2 separate regions of the Homo sapiens genome follow, and region 2 is linked to region 1. The links are contacts of gene promoters, found by promoter capture Hi-C in blood cells and fetal thymus (Javierre and others, 2016). All regions are on one chromosome and are shown on one strand. The core of a region is centred on a gene start or on the middle of the fragment in contact, and the rest is flanking DNA. Distances in the headings are between cores, read along the strand shown.

Region 1 (4,834 bases), core at 1-2,500:
ACTAAACCAAAATTATTCAAGCGGAGCCCCATTTGTCACAATCCAGTCATAAGGGTTCCACCACCCCCTCCCCCAACTGCTTGTGTAGTGGTATATCTGCTACGGTAAAGAAGCCATCATCAGGTAAAGATTGGGGTGGGAGAAAAGCGGGGAAAAGGGGGCACCCTTTCATCTAATTTCGTGAGGCGTGAGTAATTGGTACTGTTAAGAGGAACGTTCTATTTATCGGGGGTTGGAGTAGCATGAGGGGAGAATTTCGTTCAAATCAACATGGCCAGCAAGATGTCCCTACAAACAAAAGGCAATGGGGGGATATAAACACGAACCATTCACCTCCATCAGCTACAGCATCGCCATCATGGTGTGTGCAGAGACCCCCAAAGGCTCCTCTCACCCTCCACACCAGCTAAGGCAAAAGAAGGGAGAGAGGTAGCTGCATCCCCCCCTCCCAACACTGCTTCCAAAGACACACTCTTCGAGGGGGTTTCTCCCCTCGGCTGCCCGGAATCAGAGAGAAAGAGTAACGTCCCGCTCACTACCTCTCAGCCGAACCCCAACGCCGGCCCGGGGCTCGCTAAACTTTACCAGAGCTTCTCCCCCAGATCCCCACCCTATCGCCCCGGGATCGCGCTTCCCACAAGCGGGGCACCCCAGGCGCTTCCTGACAAGCGAGCAGCCGGGGAAAGCCGAGTCCGGGGCGGGGGCTACTGGGATCCACGGAGGGGCGGGGCGGCCGAAGCCAAGTTCCCGGGGGTCTGAGAAGAGCGCCTGACAGGAGCCCGGGACTGCAAAGGAGGAAGAGGAAGCGGCCACGGGGAGCTTTCCCAATCCCCCCTACGAGAGCACCCTGCCCCCAGCCCCAGCTCCCCATGGGGGGCAGGGAGGCTAACTGGAAGGTGAAAAAGCCGAGCCCATGAGACAGCTGCAGCCCCTACCTCCGGACTCCCTATCTCTTCCCCCGCCACCCCCGCCAGAGGCGCCCACAACAATAACACGCCGGGGACGACCCGTCAGCGCCCCCGAGGCACCCGGGGCCCGCGGCCCGCCGCAGGCGGGCCCCCTCTGCTGAGACCGGGCGCGCCTCTCTCCCTACAACTCCAGGCCCGGGTGGAGTCAGGCCCGAGAGGCCCCCCAGGGTCGGACCCATCCCCCCTGGCAGCAGCGGCGCCGTCTCCGCGGCCGAATATTAGAAGTGAATTCGAGCTGCGCTTTACCTTTAGTTCCGCACTGTCCGCCATCTTGCGTCTGTCAGCGCAAGCGCAGTGAACTTCGCCGGGGGCCGCCGCTAGACCCGCCCCTCTAGCCGGCCTGGCCCCGCCCCGGCCCGCCCCTCCACCTTCCCAGCCCGCCTCTAGCCTCCGCCCCGCTCAGGGCGCTCGAAGCCCCGCCCCGGGCACGTACAGCTGCGAGACAGGCACGTTCCATTTAAATAATGGCGCCAAGCGGCGAGGTTTGACAGTTACTGCCCCCTCGGTCTCCCTGCCCCCCATCCTAGCTCGGCCAGCTCCTCCCGGGAAGGGCCGGAGCGAGAGGGATGCTGGCCTGAGCCCCATCTCTCTGCGGTCCGCGGAACGCTTCTGCATAGCTTCGACGCCTACGGTCACAGAAACAATGCTGTCCCCCAACCCCCAATAAGCAAGGCTTTTTCAGCACCTGCTACCTGCGAGGCTACCAGTGGGCTAAAAATAGAAATCCATTACATTTAAGGGGCCCTTAATGAAGCATTTCTATCATTATTGGCTCAGATCCTCTTGATAACGAGGGGAGGTAGGCAAGGAAGAGATAATTCCCATGGTATAGATTCAGAAATGAAAGCTCAGAGAGGAAAAGTGACTTGCACAAACAAGTATTTTAACGAGGTGGCGTAAGACAAAATTTTGAAGGTGTTCATTAACATTTTTGTTTAAAAAAGTATTTATTTAGTGACCATCTGCTTGCCTTGTGCTAACGGCTAAATATACATTTTGAAATCAAAGTCCGTGCCCTTCTGTAGTTCTCTAATGGGGAATCAGAGAAGTGAACGAACAAAGATACAATTGCAAATGTTAGTGAGTACCAGAAAGGAGCAAAAGGTCATTGAGAGAGAGAAAGGGTTTGGGAGATGTACTTAATTCTGGGAGGGTTTTATCCACTAAATTGACATTTAAGTAGACTTGATGGAAGGATTATTTCATTCCTTTTCGTCTCTACTGAAAGCCTTCTATATACCTCCTCCCCAACCCCCACTTTTACTAATCAACTTTGCCTCATAACTCATGGAAAAAATGAAAGATATCAGAAATAAACTCCCTTATCTTCTCACCATCAAAACCACCCTTATCTGCATAGTAACATTTGGGTTGCTATGAATGAAGTGTCCCTGCGCCTAGGAAGGCCAGTCCCTTTACCAGTGACCGGATTTTTTTCACGCACATTCCTAAGGATTTTACTCTTACAATTACCTACCCTCCAGCATCGTTAGTTTTTTCCCTCTCAATTGAATTGCTCCTATCAGCATATAAATATATTGAAATTTCTCCCATCTAAAATAAACTTCCTTTGACTCCAAAATCGCCTCTAGGAACTGCCCTATTTTTCTGCTATCTTCATAAATTCTTAGAAAGGTTTTTCAAGATCTCTCCAATAGTGCTTGTTCCTACCTCTCACTTCACATTCACTTCTCAGTCTACCCTGATCGAGCTTTGGCTTCCATCATCTGTATCACTTATCAAGATTACTAATGATCTTGTTTCCAAAGGCAATTGCCAATTCTCTATCCATATCTCAATTGACCTCTCTGTAGAATCGCGAATAATTGACATGGTTCCTTTGATTTGAAACACTTTTCCCCCTGAACTTACCTACACGTCACAGATAGTCCTGTTCCCTCACTGGGCCTCCTTTTTGATATGCTGGTTTCTCCTCTTTGGCTCAATCTTTAAATGTTGGACTGCTCCAGGGCTCGGTCCTTGCATTCTTCTCTATTTTATCACCAGGTGATCTCATCTAACTGGTTGACTTGAAGTCTATATGCTCATGACTTTGAAAATGCTCTCTAGCCTAAACCTCTCCATTGTCAAGAAACAAAAGTAAAACAAATTGAGATTCAAGATCTCATTGGCATTATTGCACTCCTAGAATTGGACAAAACTTCATTCCACAAAATAGAATAAATGTTGCAATGAATCAAGCAGAGGATGTTAACTTTAGAGACAGAAAATAGACTGAAGAAGGCAGAAACAACAAAAAGCAGATTGGTTATATCAAAGTCACTTTTCTTTAAGGTGGAGACGTGGAGACAGAACAGTAGAAAGAAAACTGATTGGTTAACATTGGGTTACTTCAGGTATTCTATTTTAAGGATTAAAACAGGAAATTTCATTATCATGCCTGTTAAAGATTGAAACTTCTGTTTGGAAAATTGGCTATCTCTCTTACCATTTTTTGGAAAACCAGATAACTCAGTTTTGTTTTGGTGAACATGGGTGACACCATTTTGATTTTTAGTCTGATCTGGAGGCCTGATGCAGGAATTTGGTTGAAAACAATGGCATCCCATGATTTTTATTTAACAACCTAGGTGAAATTGTGACTAAGACTGAGGGCATTAGCACTACCCTCATTTAACATCATTCTGTGTTTCCAGTCTCAACACATCATTTATAGATTACAGTGTCCTCATGATTTTGTATTTCTGTCATTGCAGCTGAAGAGAGACCATATGACATTCAACAATTGGCTGTATGCAAATATGTAAAACTTTTTGAGAGAACATAATTGAGAATTGTGACTATCAGGAGGACAATGCCAAGAGTTCGGAGTATGCTTCTTAGCTAGGGTTGCCATAAACCAAACCAACTAAAATCAAATAGATCAAAGAATGAGCCAGATGAGAAATCTACCTGTTTTCACCAAGTAGCCTGCTAACTTTTTGAAACTGAGTCTCTACAATACCAGATTATTTATGTACAACAAGAAGTGACAGCAACAGCACAGATTTCCCCGTTTGGTTAGTACGCAGCAATTCTATCATCTAGCATCTCAGAAATGGGTTAAATTAAAGCAAAGAGTGCTAACTCTACAAAAGAGGCCACTAGTAAAATTTGAACAAACAGTTGCATTAGGGATGTTGCTAAAGTTACCCACTAGGTGGAATAAAAGCTCTCTTGGGTCCTGTAAATGTTTGGGTTTGACCCTTTATCAACTTACCCACAAAAACTACTAATTGTGAAATTTTAACTACAGCATTATCCTGCCAAGTGGAAGAGGTGGGCATAAGCAAGAAAAAATTAAGAAGGGAAGGAGTCTTATCATGGTAGCGAGTCTTATTCTGACAGTCTTGGAAAACGCTGTCCACAACATGATGTCAGCAATTTCTCATCCTGGTTTGCAGTTTAAATGTCTCTGGCTGTGGCATCAGGTGTTCTGCTAAACTCTCTATGTGGCTCCCTCATCAAGCATGGGACTTGTCCCTTGAAATTTATATCGAGTTGTTCAGCTTAGCAGTTTTTGTTCATGGTTGGAGAATTGCAGTCAGATATTGAAGGCAACAAGAACTCAGGATCCAGGCTAGTCTATAGATAGATGATAAAAACTCAAAAACAATGAACAAAGCTGCAATCTAGTAACAGGTGTACTATGGTTTTCTTCAGAAACATAATTTTTCTCTCTACAGTCATTCCCATTTCTACCAAAGATAATCATGGTAAGACCAATTTATTTTTAAAATTAATTTAGTTTCAAACTTGACCTGATTATTTACATAAGTGCGGCAAGAATAACCACATAGGCTTCTTTTAAATTTATTTTGCTGGAAATTGTGACAACAAATCTGGACTTTTAAAAACCTCTTGAT
Region 2 (4,834 bases), core at 680-3,179, 180 kb after region 1:
TGCTCAACATTATTTGTCATTAAGGAATTGCATATTAAAACAATGAGATATATACATCAGTATATATTTAACTTTATCGGAAATTGCCAAACCAATGTCCCATTTTGCATTTCCATCAGCAATATATAAGTGTTCTAGTTGCTCAGGATCCATCCCAGGGAAGAAAAAAGGAAAGGTAAAAAGAAAAAGAAATAAGAGCTTCAGTTGCTCTACATCCTCAGCTTGTATTGTCAAGATTTTAAAATTTGAGCATTTTGTGATGTTAATGGTATCTCATTGTGGTTTTAATATGCAATTCTCTATTGACTAATTATGTTGAGAATCTTTTTATGTGCTTATATCTTATTTGGCGAAGTAGCTTTAAATCTTTTGTTTTATATCTTATTTTTAAGTTAGTGTTTGTTTTATATCTTATTTGGTAAACAGCTCTAAATCTTTTGTTCAATTTTAAGTCAGTGTTTTTATTTATTATTGAGTTGGGAGGTTTCTGTATATATTCTGGATAGAATTTGGTATCACTGTCCAATCAAGAAATGGAAAACAGGTAAAGTTTAACATAAAGAAATAACAGGAGATTTGAGTAATGGGAAATCGACTCATAAGAGTTATAGAGAACTCTGATGAATGCAAGAATGGCAAATACAGGGAACAGCCGCTGCCAGCAGGATAGAGTGTCCAAGGAAGAACTCCAGACCCTGCTGGGGAGAGCACAGCATGGCATCCTGGGTGGTGGAGAAGACACTGAAGTGGCTCACAGTGTAATAGTGGAATCTTCCCTTTAGGGTACTAGGGGGTGTTGTCCACAGAGAAGTGCCATACCTTGAAACTTGCTGCAAATTCTTCAGGTGATGGGGTGCTGGGGGAAGCCGTTCATGGTCAGGTGCCTTGCCAGTGGCACACCACTTAGAGAAGATGCTGAGGGAAGCTTCTGTCAGCTGGGCACTGAAGGTTACCATGCACTGCCAGAACTGGGAGCTGGAGAAGCTGCCCTTTTCAGGAAAAGGGAAAGAGTAAGAGACAATTTCTTCCTCCTCCCATGCCTACTACTGGCTTAACATCATGTATCAAAGAAAAATATTTATTTAACCCACCTCCATTATCACAGAGCAGGTAAAGAAGGGTGAATTTGGAGCCAAGAAGCAATAAGTTGATGACTGTCACAAAACCCTTTATCATTTGTGTGTTTTGCAAATATTTTTTCTCAAGCTACAGTTTGTCTTTTCATTTTCTTGATGGTGCCTTTTGAAAAGCAGATGCTTTTAATTTTGATGATGCCAATTCATTCATTTTTCTTTTTTCATTCATGCTTTTTTAATCCTAAAATCTTTGCCTAACCTCAAATCATAAGATTTTCCCATGTTTTCTCCTTGAAGTTTTACAGTTTCAGCTTCCAGATTTAGGCTTATGATCCATTTCAAGTTTTGTGTGTATGCATTTTTAAAATTGGTAACATATACAATAAATTACAAAAATATGTGCATCTACTTTAATTTATAAATGGTATCAAGTTATCTCATTATGCTTCCTACCTTTGTCACTGAGGGCTGTTTTTAAGATTCATTCATGTTGCTATGTATACATCTGCTATGGTTTGAAAGTTTGTCCCCTCCAAAACTTATTTTGAAATTTAATTGCTATTGTAGCAGTATTAAGAGGTGGGACTTTTAAGAACTTGACAGCTTCCATCTCATGAGTGGGATTGGTGCTATTATAAAAGAGTGAGTTTAGGGGCTAGGCACAGTGGCTCATGCCTGTAATGCATGAGCATTACAGACAATCCAAAGTCTCAACACTCTGGGAGGCTGTGGCAGGAGAATTGCTTGAGCCCAAGAGTTCAAGTTTAGGGGCTAGGCACAGTGGCTCATGCCTATAATCTCAACACTCTGGGAGGCTGAGGTGGGAGAATTGCTTGAGCCCAAGAGTTCGAAACCAGCCTGAGGAACATTGTGAGACCCCATCTCTACAAAAAAAAAAAAAAAAAAAAAAAATTAGCTGGGTGTGGTGGTGTACACCTGTGGTCCCAGCTACTCGGGAGGCTGAGGTGGGAGGATCCCTTGAGCCTAGGAGTTCAAGACTGCAGTCAGCTATTATCATGCCACTGCACTCTAGCCTGGGTGACAGAACAAAACCTTGTCTCAAAAAAATAAAAATGAAAGATAAAGAGTGAATTTGGCCCTCTCTAACCCTCTCTTTGCTCTACTGCCATCTGATGCTTTCTGCCATCTTATGATACAGCAGCAAGAAGGCTCTTGCCAGATGCCGGCACCATGATCTTGAACTTCCCATCTCCAGAAATGTAAGAAATAAATCTTGGCTCATTGCAAATCATCCAATCTGTGGTATCTGTTACAGCAGCATAAAACAGACTAAAGCACTCTACTACATGCATCATTCACATTTCACCCATTTATTCCTCTCCAGATGGACAACTGCTTGTCTCCAATTGCCTGCTAGCAGAACTGACACAGCAGCCAATGTTCTAATCTGTATTCCCTGATGGACCTGTATGATTACTTATCCTGAGTGTATATACACCCAGGAGTAGATCTGCTGGGTCCCAGGCTGTGCATATATTTAATTTATCTAGTATATCTAATGTATCAGACTGCTCTCCAGAATGGTTGACAATCTGCATTCCCACCAGCAGCATGTGAAGGAAACTATATCTCCACTTACCTGCTAACACTTGACATTTTCCAACTTTCCAATTTTTGCCAGTCTTCTAGGTGTAAGGCTGATATTTCATTGTTGTTTAAAATTGAATTTCTTTGATTACTAATGATTTTAATTTTTAATAATTCCCTTAACTTGCCTGTTTGGGTTACCACTTTTATAAGTTTTCTCTTGATAAACTGTCCATTCTTCTATGGGATCTGCTACCTTTTCCTTGCCTTGCATTTAATTTGTTGTTCTTTTTCTAAGATGAAAGCTTGAATTATAATTTTAGAACTTTTTTCTAATATATGCATTCAATGTCATAAATATCCCTCTAAGCACTTTTACTGCATCCCTCAAATTTTGATAATTTGAGTTTTCATTTTCATTTAGTTGCAAATAGTTTTTGGTTTCTCTTGAGATTTCTTTTTCAGCCATATGTCATTTAGAAGTATGTTGTTTAGTCTCCAAGTATTTGGGGGATTTTCCAGCTATCTTTCTGTTTAATCCCATTGTAGTCTGAGAGCATACATTGTAATATTTCTGTTCCTTTAAATTAGGTAGGGTGCAGGTTGTGGCCCAGAATGTGGTCTACTTTGGTGAACGGTACATGTGAGGAATGTGTATTATGCTGTTTTGGATGAAGTAGTCTATAGATGTCAATTATATCCTGTTGATTGATGGTGCTGTTGAGTTCAACTATGTCCTTACTGATTTTCTGACTGCTGGATCAGTCCATTTTCAACAAAGGGGTATTGAAGTCTCCAACTAAAATAATGAATTCATCTATTTCTCCTTGCAGTTCTATCAGTTTTTGCCTCATGTATTTTGATGCTCTGTTGTTAGGGGCATACCCATTAAAGATTATGTCTTCCTGGAGAATCAACCCCTTTGTCATTATGTAATGCCCCTCCTATCCCTGTTTAATTTGCTTGCTCTGAAGTCTGCTCTGTCTGAATATACCTACTCCAGCTTTCTTTGATTAGTGTTAGCATGGTATATCTTTCTTATCCTTCTCCATCTCTTTACTTTTAGTCTATATGGATCTTTATATTTAAAGTGGGTATATTTTACACAACAATATAATTGAGTCTTTTTTTTTTCTGAGATAGGGTCTTGCTCTGTCACCCAGGCTAGAGTGCAGTGGCTCAATCACAGCTCACTGCAGCCTTGATCTCCTGGGCTCAAGAAATCCTCCTACCTCAGCCACTCAAATAGTTAGATCTACAGGCACACACCACCATGCCCATCTAATTTTTATTTACTTTGAGATGGAGTCTCATTCTGTCAACCAGGCTGGAGTGCACTGGCATGATCTCAGATCACTGTAACCTCCACCTCCCAGGCTCAAGCAATTCTCATACCTCACCCTCCCGAGTCCCTGGGATTACAGGCGCCCACCACTACACCTGGCTAATTTGGGTTTCACCATGTTGGTCAGGCTGGTCTCAAACTCCTGATCTCAAATGATTCACTCACCTCAGCCTACCAAAGTGCTGGGATTACAGGCGTGAGCCACTGCACCCAGCCCCAGCTAATTTTTAAATTTCTTGTAGGGACAGAGTGAGACCTTGTCTCAACAACAACAATACAATGACTTAAAAAACACACAGTATAACAACTATTTACATAGCATTTACGTTATATTAGATACTATAAGCAATCTAGAGATGATTTAAAGTATCCAGGACGTTGCGCACAAGTTTTGTGCAAATACTACGCCATTTTTAATAAGGAACTTGAGCAGTCCTGGATTTTGGTACCTGAGGGGGAGCGTAGAACCCATCCCCAATGGATATGGAGGGATGACAGTGACAGCAACAGGGGGCAGCCTAGGCAGACAGGGGCAGGTCCCCGGTGAAACCCCACCTAAAGCCAAAAACAGCCTGAAGGCTGAAAGATTGGACTGCTGGTCCTGGATGAAACTGCAACCCAGAATGAGAACTTCTGTTCTTTTTGCCTCCCTTTCCCAACTGATTCTTTCTGAATGCCTTTTAACCAATAGAATGTTGCTTTTTCCAATACTACCTGTGGCCTGCCCCTCCCCCATTCTGAGCTTGTAAAAAGCCCCGGACTTAGTCATATTATGGGGACTTTCCAGCCTTCGGGTAGGCGGACCACCCCTGCATCCCCTCTCTGCTGAAAGCTGTTTCATCACTCAATAAAATTCCCTGCCTTG

The links. The method cuts DNA at HindIII sites, captures the fragments that hold promoters and counts their contacts. A CHiCAGO score of 5 or more calls a contact.
Region 2: a contact is called between a fragment that was not itself captured here and the fragment with the promoter of PIAS1 in region 1, in 7 of 17 cell types (M0 macrophages, M2 macrophages, M1 macrophages and 4 more). The highest score is 10.0, in M0 macrophages.

Annotation. Positions count from the first base shown.
Region 1 is chr15:68,050,731-68,055,564 of GRCh38, reverse strand. It overlaps PIAS1 (protein inhibitor of activated STAT 1), which reads right to left and starts at 1,250. Exons shown (of 14, transcript NM_016166.3): 1 at 1,215-1,250. The coding sequence starts at 1,238. RefSeq lists a silencer at 952-1,451. The HindIII fragment of the contact is 6,968 bases long and covers 1-4,834 here.
Region 2 is chr15:67,869,852-67,874,685 of GRCh38, reverse strand. No RefSeq gene overlaps it. Among named protein-coding and RNA genes, the nearest start is that of RNU6-1, 32 kb to the right of the region's middle. The HindIII fragment of the contact is 2,004 bases long and covers 928-2,931 here.